Regions from separate parts of the Homo sapiens genome. Here all the other regions are linked to region 1. The links are contacts of gene promoters, found by promoter capture Hi-C in blood cells and fetal thymus (Javierre and others, 2016). All regions are on one chromosome and are shown on one strand. Each heading gives the region's core, a stretch centred on a gene start or on the middle of the fragment in contact. The rest is flanking DNA. Distances are from core to core; before and after follow the strand shown. Region 1 holds the start of IL2 (interleukin 2). Region 2 overlaps LOC102724158 (a long non-coding RNA gene). Region 3 has its middle 75 kb from the start of TRPC3.

Region 1 (3,683 bases), core at 818-3,317:
ACATAAGTAGGTAGAGCCAGAATTAGATTTCATTTCTTTCTCATTATAGCATTAACATAGCATCCTTGGAATCAAATATTTTTATTAGTTTCTAAAATCTTTTGTAAATGTGCAATGAGGGTTAAATGAACAAATGAATAGAGTTTATCATTACTTTTGGTTTCAAACTTAGATTTCCATGAATTCTACCACCCCCTAAATTATGCACATAATCTCATCTTTCTAACACTCTTTAGTGGGAAAGGTAGGTCAAGACAATACCAATCCCCTGATATGTCCATCTATTGCGCTTTCAATTCACCACTACAAATTCTACAAATTCGGGTTTAAGTTTTTGGCATGAACAATGTGGAGAAATTTTCTTCAGAAAACAGCATCTAGTATCTTTATGTTGCTGGAGTTGCATTATGTGGCTCTGATTAAACTAGAGTAACATCTGTAAGCTGTCTCCTTTACATCTTTCAGAAGGGTAGTTAGAAGCAGATTTCTCTTGAATTAATAGAATTTGAGTCAATGGGATTGCATCTGTGTCCCCTTAAATCCTATTATTTTCTGGGCTTGGATTCACCCTGGCACAAGCTCTTTCTGGCACCAGATTTTGTTCATTCTCTCTTAACTGGCACAGCTACTAGGTAGCTTTACACACCTAATGTAGCCTAGGAGCTTGGATGATTATGCTTATGCTCTATCTGAATCCAAAAACAACCTAATGAAGCTTTTAATCTTGGAAAATAAGTCATATAGCATTATAAATCTCAAGTTCTATTGGTAAAAAGATAAAGTCCAAAATTTTACTTTGTATTTCTCAGTGAAAATTTTATCTTTAATACTACTAATAATAGCTAATGCTTGTATGGTATTTACCTTATGCCAGACACGGTTCTGAGTGCTTTACATTTACTTACTAATTCTCACAAAGCCATATTAAGTATATACAGTTATTCATTTAAGTAGACATGAAACTGAATCACAAACAGAGTAGGTAATTTGCCAAAGATCATGAAAGCTAGGACATGGCAGAGCTGAGATTTCACTTCAGATATCTGGCCCCAGACTCTGTGCTATTAGTGTTATGCTGCCTCTCACTTAGAAACCTTTCCTAAAACAAGAAAAGATTTTTAAAAGTGGGCTCCTTGGAAATAGATTTTGGTATTTTACATACTAAAATGACATAATCAAATATTTTAGAGTTTTACATTTTTAAATGAAACCATAAATGAACATTTTTGTTTAGAATTGTCTTATCGATAAAGTGAGAATATTATTTTTATGTTTTCTTCCCACCCCCACCAACACACAAATATATATTAAAAATATAGGTAAAACTGTTTTAATAGAGGCTTCATTATCAAACTTGGGTTTTCAAAAAAACAAATTAAAGTTACTCTTTACCTCAGATGAGCTGCTATTAGTCCCATCTGTGCAAATTTTCATATTACTTTGAATTTTATTAAAACAGAAATTGAACATAAAATATTGTACTTACCTTCTTGGGCATGTAAAACTTAAATGTGAGCATCCTGGTGAGTTTGGGATTCTTGTAATTCTAAGAAAGTATAATGCATTGTTATTAAGAAATGATCTCCAGCTAGATTACTAAATGTAATAATTTTAGTAAGAAAGGAAATATACTTACATTAATTCCATTCAAAATCATCTGTAAATCCAGCAGTAAATGCTCCAGTTGTAGCTGTGTTTTCTTTGTAGAACTTGAAGTAGGTGCACTGTTTGTGACAAGTGCAAGACTTAGTGCAATGCAAGACAGGAGTTGCATCCTGTACATTGTGGCAGGAGTTGAGGTTACTGTGAGTAGTGATTAAAGAGAGTGATAGGGAACTCTTGAACAAGAGATGCAATTTATACTGTTAATTCTGGAAAAATATTATGGGGGTGTCAAAATGTTTTACATATTACACATATTTTCAAAGACTTTACCTGTCTGAAAAAACATTACCTTCATTTTTCCTCTTCTGATGACTCTTTGGAATTTCTTTAAACCCCCAAAGACTGACTGAATGGATGTAGGTGAAATCCCTCTTTGTTACATTAGCCCACACTTAGGTGATAGCTCTAATTCATGCAATTAACGCCTTCTGTATGAAACAGTTTTTCCTCCTTTCTTTAAGGGGGTGGGGATACAAAAGTAACTCAGAAAATTTTCTTTGTCATAAAACTACACTGAACATGTGAATAGCATATTGTGGTGGACAAGAGCAAGAGTAAACAGATGAAAAGAATAAATGTTTAGATTTGTTGATAAAACAGGAAGTGTATTGGTTTCCTGTTTCAGAATGGTTTTACCTTTTTATCCACACAATGAGCTAATTGCATACAATAAGATAGATTGCTTCTTACATGTCAGCTAGAGAAATACTAAGATTAGAATACTTAAAATGCTTATTGAGCTTGAGGTACTGTTTAACGCTATTTTAATTTAAAATGATTATATATCTGTTTAAGTCTCTTAATGTCTATTGTACATTTTTTAAAGGGTGCGATTGTTAAATACTCAGAAAAAGGTTTGCATTCAAGGATACTGATGCTAGTTTTATAATAGACTTTGTATGTGTTATGTGTAAACCAGTCCATGTTTCTCGTTTTTATGTCTTTACCTCTTTAATGGATTTTTATTTATCCTCTAAATCACCTGGGACACTATGAATGTAACAATAATCGTTATGAAATATGATCTTGTTTTTAGTCAGAAGACTAGGATATTTAGGATAGGTGTTCATTCATCCTCAGTACAGTGCACAAACTGGCTGAACAATTGTACGGATATATACTTCTAATTTAACCTGGGGACACTTGAGGAGATCCTGTCTCAGAGAGAGTCCTTGTAAAGCTTCCATTCTATGGCCTTATTTATTTCTTACCTGGACTTTTTTTTTTTTTTTAAAGATGGTATTGTCTGTGTTTTTGTTTGTTTTTTTAAGACAATATTGTCTGGTCTTTAAACAGACATCTAGCACCTATAATGCCTTCAGGTATATAGAAAGAGAGAAAAGAGAACAGTGTACAGGCAGGCACTTAGTCTAATATAAGTCTTACAGACTTGTGAAGTGATGGCTCCTATTTTGCAGATTAGAAAACTGAGGCTCAGAGAAGTTAAGTAATTTGCTCTAGGTCACTCAGCCCTTATTGCCAGTAAGGGGCAGAAGAAGGATTTGAAAAGAGAATGTTCTGACTCCAAAAATCCACTCTCTTACCATTTGTATTTTTTCAAAGAACCTGATTTGTAATAGGGAAGATATGTACATACACAAGTGTAGTCCTGGGTGATAGGTGATTGCTGCCCCAAGGGAGGTGGATATAAGGAATCTTGAATAAGGAACAATTAATTTAAACTGGATTTTGAGGAGGGTGCATAGGCAGGAATGATTAAAGCAGTCTAAGGAACAGTCAAATGTAATATTTTACAAAGAACAGAGAAAAATGGTTCAATAAGAGTTTTCTATGCGTTAGGTAATGTTCGGAGAATATAAAACAAATTTAAAAATAAAGATTATAGTCCCTCAAGTAGAAAAAAAAATGAAGAAAAGGTCAGATTAGGGCCAAATCTCATGAACTTTTTATACGAAAAAATGCAAAATGTCTCTATACATTTCAGATCAAAATCACATTAACGCTGTTATAAGGGGCAGGCTATTTGGTAGTCTGTGTGTTATTTATTTAATATAATA
Region 2 (3,683 bases), core at 1,184-3,683, 480 kb before region 1:
CTTCACACTCCGAGAATATTCTGATAGGTTTTTTTTAATCATACTCCCTTCTGTCAACAGAGTTTAAATTCTTTCTTAAAAATAGGATTGCCAGCATAAAACATTATTATTACTGCTAAAAATGGTGGTAAAACATATAGCTATGTTTACTTAATTACAATATTTCATTAGATACGGTCATTATTGGCCTGCACAAATTTTCAGAATGATTTACTTCTTAAGAATTTTGAAAGCTGGGAAAGTGGTATTCTTTACTTTTAAAAATTATATTTATAGTATATGAAGACATTTTAATTGTTAAAAAATTATTCTAATAATATCAAAGTATTTTGATTAAAAGTGTAAGTCCCTTTTCCCACAGTACCACTTCTACCTCATGGGTACTACTACTAACAATTTAGTGTATATCTTTCAAACATTGATATAGATATTGATATAGAATATAGCCATTAAGTTACAGTGCTATTTCCTTTACTAGAGAGCAAAAGGTCAAATTACATTGATTTTTCTGTCATTGAGTATTCATTTGATGTCAGCAATAGAAAAATAAACAAATATATATCAAGCTCAATACCAATCACATTGGATGCTAGGACACTAGCAATGACATTTTTATCTTGCATTGGACAGCTTATGATGGAATGAGTTTGTGAGGTTCATAAGAATCAGGAAAAAAAGGGGTAATTAAAAGCAACTCTAATGACAAAATCACAATACATCATGCTTAAGTAGTTATATAAAGCCATTATTCTGTCCAGTGGGGGTAATTTTTTTCCATTTTTTCCCAACTTATGGAAATTAGTTATATATTGCTTTTTAGCATATAGAGACCTGGCTTTAAAAAGCTTCTAGATCCCTAATTACTCTTAAAGTAACATTTTGTTTCCTGTATAATTTAGAAAAAAGCCTCTGAAAGCCTATGATCCTTTTATTTATAAAAAATAAAAAAGGGGAACATAATTTATGACCAAGAATTTTCAAATGAAGTGTGTTAAGAACACACTTATTTAATCTCTGGATGAAGGGTTTGCATCCCAATTCCAAGCATAGAATCTTGGAAGGAACTGAAAAGACCTTGTAAGTAACCAAGGGCAAATTCTTTTCTTTGCCGAAAAACGAGGGAATTTTGATCCTCCCCAGAATACTGCAGGAAGAGCACCAGGATCCCAGAAGTCCTGGGTTTGGATCTCAGCTCTGTCATTCTAAGCCTGAGTTCTCTTCTTAAACTGTGGTGAGAATAGCTATGGCATGGGGATGTAGTCAATGAGATTAGTAAATTACATGAAGTAGATGTGCCTGCCCTGTCCTTATACCAAATTAGAGAAAAGAGTCCACAGTGTTTTTTCCCTTCCCCATTCCACCTTGTCTAAGGGTACAGATCTAAGTTGTAGGAAAAGGGGGGCAAGAGTCTAAATCATCTGACTTACAGGCCAGTTAGCTTCCCATGAATTTCTTTTAACCAAGCCCTGATGCCTTTCACCCTCTTCATGGAGATTATTTCCGGTCCTTAGACACACAGATGCCCCTTCACTATGAATGCCAACTGTGTTCTTGGCTGATGATGGATCATGGCAGTCCCCTTCTTCCCCTTCTATGACTTTCCTTTGCCTTCAGGATAAAGTCCACCTCCTTAACATAACCTAAAAGGCCCCTGTTGACCTCTCTACCCTCTGTGTTTCCTCTTCTCCTTAGACACTCAGACCCAGCCACACTGAACTATTCTCAAGTACTCTGTTACCTCCATGCATTTGCACAATCCCCTCACTCCTCACTAAGCAAATTCATACCGACACATTTTGTTTGTTCCAACTTAACATGTGATCCTTTCTGGGAAGTCTTACTCGACCTTGGATCTCATGCTCCTCATCATAGAACATATCCTAACACTGTGTAGTAATGGATGATTGACTTATGTGACTGCTCTGCTCAGCTACAACATCCTTGAATCTTGAAGAGACTGTGTGTTATTAATCTTAATATCTGTCACAGCTTGCACAATACTTTGCACTATAATTCTATTATTTATTTTTAGCTTTTTAGTTGAAGTAGACCATACATTCCAAAAGTTCATAAATCATGTATGTACAGCTTAATGAATTTTAACAAATAAAACTTCTGCCATAACTAGCATCAATCAAGGAACAGAACATTAGTCCAGAATCCCTCTCCATGCCCTTTTTCAGTCATTACTCCTCTTATTTCTAATACAATACAGTGTTTTTGAACTTTATATAAATGAAATCATACAGTACATATCTTCTTTTGTGTCTGCCTTCTTTTGCTCAATATTATGACTGTAGGATTCTAAAAGCTTTTTAAAAAAATGGGTAATATTGCTGTATCTAAGATTTTAATCAATGTATATGAGAGGTTTTCTATATCACCACTTCAGAAAGAAGGCAGCTATTTTGAGGCACAGATGAAATCCCTCTCTAGTGGTTGTGGTGATAGCCTGCTCAGCATTCTTTTTTGTGATTTCTATCAACCCAATTTTGTTCAGGTGTACACCCCTCTATGGAAAGCCCAAGTGACTCCCAGTGGACGGGTCTGGTTGGTAAGCTTTCTCCCCCTTGTCAGGGATTGGCTCAGGAATGGGAGTCTCCATTTCAGCCACTGAGGAAATGTTGCTGGGGTTCGAGGTATCTTTTTGCCTCCTACTCCAGGAATGCATGCAGAAGCAACCCTGTCACTCTTCTCCTGGATGTGTCATGTGTGGGCAGTAGGTTCAGACACTAAGGCTACTCTGGTCGCCTTTGTCCTTGAGGATGAAGTTGATACAAAGAGGAAGACAGAGCCAAGAATCACAAAGAAATAGGGCTTGCTACTGCATTAAGCCATCCTCGAGCCTGTGCTACCTCTAAGTTTCTAGTTACATCATGTCATCCAGCAAATTTCATTATTGCTTAATGTAGTTTGAGTTTTTTTTTTAAATACAACTAAAGGCACTTTAACTGGTATGTGTCCCAAGGACTCAGATGATTACTTGGAAGGCACATTTAATGGAATTGATGGTGATGTGAAGCTTTGATCTTGGGAAGGGGATGCGAGTCAGACAGTGAGGGATGGAGTGACATGGCATGGAGGGCTCCACCTACAACACAGGCTGAGAAGAAATCCCTCAGGAGTGAGCTATTTGCACACTGCTCACAATGCCTTGGGTTGTCAAGGCTCCATGGGTATGCTACAGACTTGAGGAACCTTTTAAGTGAAGAACGGCAACATTGTGAGTGGTGGGGATGAGGGCAGCTGCCTGTGCCAGCAGGTAGAGAAGCTTCTCCTTTCCCCCTCCCATGGAGGAAAGGACGGCCAGTGCAACAGCAGTGGTAACCCTACATGGCCCAAGGGTGTTTCTTCAGAGCACAAGGAGTGCCCTGGATGGCAAGTTGCCAGATTTTGGTAGTAGACGTGCAGGAAGACAAGGTTCTCAAGTGCTGGACACGAGGCGAAGCACAGGCATGTCAGATCCCCAGTGTTTTCCCAACACTATAGTGTGAAAATGAGAGTGATAAAAGTGGTAGGAAAGGGCCCCTCGGTGGATGGAGCTAGCTTCTCTCTCTCTCTCTCCTTCTCTCTCTCTCTCCCTCTCTCAATCTCTCTCTCTCTCTCTCTCTCTCTCCTCCTGGAGATAAGAGTAATTATATTGTCCACTAGGACTGAGAAAGCATGCCTGAGGGCGCTGGAGT
Region 3 (3,683 bases), core at 596-3,095, 430 kb before region 1:
GCAAATGCAGAGTGATATAATAGACTATGGAGACTCAGAAGGGGGAGGTTAGGCAGGGAGGTGAGGGTTAAAAAACTACATGTTGTGTACAATGTACACTACTTGGGTGACGGGTGCACTAAAATCTCAGACTTCACCACTATGCAAATCATCCATGTAACCAGAAGCTATTGAAATAAAAAATATATGTTTTAAGAAAAAATATGCAAAATAAATATGATTCTTATAAAAAAGAAATTAATATTCTTCTGTTAAAAAAACAACAAAACTTTAAAAAAAAAAAAACAAAAACAGGCCAGGCTCAGTGGGTCACGCCTATAATCCCAGCACTTTGGGAGGCCAAGGCAGGTGGATCACCTAAGGTCAGGAGTTTGAGACCAGCCTGGTAAACATGGCAAAACCCTGTCTCTACTAAAAGTACAAAAAATTAGCTGGGCATGGTGGCTCATGCCTGTAGTTCCAGCTACTTGGGAGGCTGAGACACAAGAATTTCTTGAACCTGGGAAGTGGAGGTTGCAGTGAGCTGACATTGTACCATTGCACTCCAGCCTGGGTGACAGAGTGAGACTCAGTCTCAGAAAAAAACCAAAAACCAAAAACCGAAACAAAAACAAAGGTGGAGAGATCAAAGTATAGTCATTGGTCACTTAACAGGGACACGTTCTGATAAATACATTGTTAGGCAATTGCATCATTGTGCAAACGTCTTAGAGTGGACTAATACAAACCTAGATGATACAGCCTACTACACACCCAGGCTATATGGGATAGCCTATTGCTCCTAGGGTACAAACCTATACAGCATCTGCAAGGAATTGCCTACTAAATACTGTAAGCAATTATAACACAATGGTGTGTGTGTATCTAAACATAGAAAAGGTGACAGGAAAGATATATGATGTTATAGTCTTACCGGACCACCATCATATATGTGGTCTGTCATTGACCAAATTTTCATTATGTGACACATGACTGTGTGACCAAATGTTAAAGTCTATTAAAGTTGGTGATAGATGCATACATACAGTTATTATGTATTTTATTTTCTGCTTTCTTCTGTACATTGGAAATATGTCATAATAAAAATTATTTAAGTTTTTTAAGAACTGAGAGGAAAAGGGAATTATGCAAACAAAGATGCAGAAGTAGAAATGAATGCAATCTGGTAGCTTTGATCTGATTTGATCTCACCAAAGGGAGTGTGACAGTGAACAGCAAAAAATGAGGTTGGGTGCAAGGATGTAGATTTTTTTTTTTTTTGAGACGGAGTCTTGCTCTGTCGCCCAGGCTGGAGTGCAGTGGCGTGATCTCGGCTCACTGCAAGCTTTGCCTCCCGGTTTCATGCCATTCTCCTGCCTCAGCCTCCCAAGTAGCTGGGACTACAGGACCCCGCCACCACGCCCAGCTAATATTTTTGTATTTTTAGTAGAGACAGGGTTTCACCATGTTAGCCAGGATGGTCTCGATCTCCTGACCTCGTGATCTGCCCACCTCGGCCTCCCAAAGTGCTGGGATTACAGGAGTGAGCCACCGCGCCCAGCCTAGTGCAAGGATGTGGATGAATGGGAATCACATGTCAGTTAACTGCTGCCTTTCAAACTTCTTAAGTGGTGCCAAAGAACTTATTCTATTCTTCCTCCTTAGAATTTTGAATTTCTGTATTTGTGGAGAAAAATTGTTCACATCCATTAAGTTAGAATTAGGTGGGGGAGAGAAACATTTAATCTTATTTCATAGGGAAATGGACAGCCTAAATAAAAACATTTGCTATTGTGAAAAAAATCAATGGTATTAAGAAGTGTTTATTAATGTAGCTGCCTCTATATTCAATACACTCCAGTTATCCAGCCCCCATTCCCTCCCCTAAAGTTATACATATTGTGAAGCAGCCTAAAATAGCGTCCAGTTGGACAAGTGTATGGAATGGCAGAGGGTCCCTTGGATTTTATAGTTGTGTTCCATTCATTGAATTAAACAAAGAATAAATGAAATGTAAATTTACACAGTGTTGAAAGTCTATTGTTGATAAAAGGAAACAGGACAAAATGTTATAATCACAGCAAGCCGGCATTCAAGGCACTGGAAAGAATATAGAGAAAGGCACTCTCCACTCTGCTTTGTACATTTCTCATTACTGTATTAGCATCTTATAATCATAAATAACACCTTAGAAAATAACCCAGAGCACAAAAGCTCTCAAAAACATTCACTGTATCATCAATGCACTCTACGTAATGCATTCAGCACCCCACAGGCATGCCATTAAATCACAGTAATAGGAAAACAACAACAAATGCTTGCCTGAAACACAAGATTTTTGCAACTGAGGATGGGGATTACTTTATTCTTTCAAGCCTTTATTGTATAAAGCTTGGATAGATTAGCTGTATTAGAACCTATGTTAAAATAGAAGCTACAGTGATGGCTGTCTATTGAGCAAATGGGGTCACAAACCTATCCTCAAAAAGTTTTCAAAAGGGGGGATTTATTTAAAAAGTGTACCCAATGTCACACAATTGGTATGCATCTGGTACACATTTTACTGTGTTAATAGTGATTTGGGAAACACTGTACCATTCCCCTGAATTTTCCTCATAGACACCTAAGTCAGAGCTGAACCTCGTAAACACTCTCTCTCACCGTATCTTCATATACAGTCATTTCCCCAACCATTAGGCTTTCTGAGTTTACCTTTATGAAGTTTTTAGAATATCTCAAGGAATAAAACTTCCGCCAGTTATCACGGAATTTCTCCATTCAGATAATCTTCCTCCTATCCAAAATTAAATAATCAAAATTTTAAAAGGAGAATCTTTTCTTATTCTATTCTACTTTGCTTACCAAGTTCTGATGTTTTCCAGGCACCATTTATTTTCCTTCTTCCTTGTATTTATAACCTTCAGAGTGACATGTGAATAGTCCCTAATAAGTTTCTCCTAGCTAATGTGTTTAGTTCCTTTCCTTTCATTATACTATTTAAACCTGACATTCATTAAACTATTCCTGTGTTTTTTGCTAAACTTTTCCCTTTCTCTTCAACTTTCTGGCACTTGTTTTTAGTACTATGATAGAAAAATAATAGAACATGTTTTTAGCAACAACTTTGGACTACATGTTTAAATGTAGCTTTCAGATATATAGATTTAGATGCAGTATTCCAGATGTAGTCTACTAGGTCATATTACATTACATGAGTGTTTTCCTGATTGCTAAAATGGATGTTGTCCACTCAGGGGAGCAGGTTACCCAGATTTTCCTTATTATCTCTCCTTCAATCTCAGGCTCTCTTCAATCCGTTCTATGACTGTGTATCCTTATTTTAAATAAGTCTTTGAACATATAATCTACATATTCAATGTTTGGCTTTTGCTTATGCTTTTTTAGTATTTATGCCTATTTTCTTAATATTTATTTATTAGGTTTCTAAACCCTCCCCCAACCTTTGCTTTTCTTTTTTTTCATGAATTTTTTTTATTATACTTTAAGTTCTGGGATACATGTGCAAAACACGCAGGTTTGTTACATAGGTATAAAAGAGCCATGGTGGTTTGCTGCACCCATTAACCTGTCATCTACATTAGGCATTTCTTCTAATGCTATCCCTCCCCTAGCCCCCGACCCCTGACAGGCCCTGGTGTGTGATGTTCCCCTCCCTGTATCCATGTGTTCTCATTGTTCAATTT

The links. The method cuts DNA at HindIII sites, captures the fragments that hold promoters and counts their contacts. A CHiCAGO score of 5 or more calls a contact.
Region 2: a fragment that was not itself captured here is called in contact with the fragment with the promoter of IL2 in region 1 in 1 of 17 cell types (endothelial precursors); the score reaches 5.5 in endothelial precursors.
Region 3: a fragment that was not itself captured here is called in contact with the fragment with the promoter of IL2 in region 1 in 1 of 17 cell types (endothelial precursors); the score reaches 5.3 in endothelial precursors.

Annotation. Positions count from the first base shown.
Region 1 is chr4:122,454,658-122,458,340 of GRCh38, forward strand. It overlaps IL2 (interleukin 2), which reads right to left and starts at 2,068. Exons shown (of 4, transcript NM_000586.4): 1 at 1,637-2,068; 2 at 1,487-1,546. The coding sequence starts at 1,783. The HindIII fragment of the contact is 2,130 bases long and covers 714-2,843 here.
Region 2 is chr4:121,974,078-121,977,760 of GRCh38, forward strand. The region is part of intron 1 of LOC102724158 (a long non-coding RNA gene); the gene reads left to right. Among named protein-coding and RNA genes, the nearest start is that of TRPC3, 24 kb to the left of the region's middle. The HindIII fragment of the contact is 248 bases long and covers 2,310-2,557 here.
Region 3 is chr4:122,025,228-122,028,910 of GRCh38, forward strand. No RefSeq gene overlaps it. Among named protein-coding and RNA genes, the nearest start is that of TRPC3, 75 kb to the left of the region's middle. The HindIII fragment of the contact is 1,046 bases long and covers 1,323-2,368 here.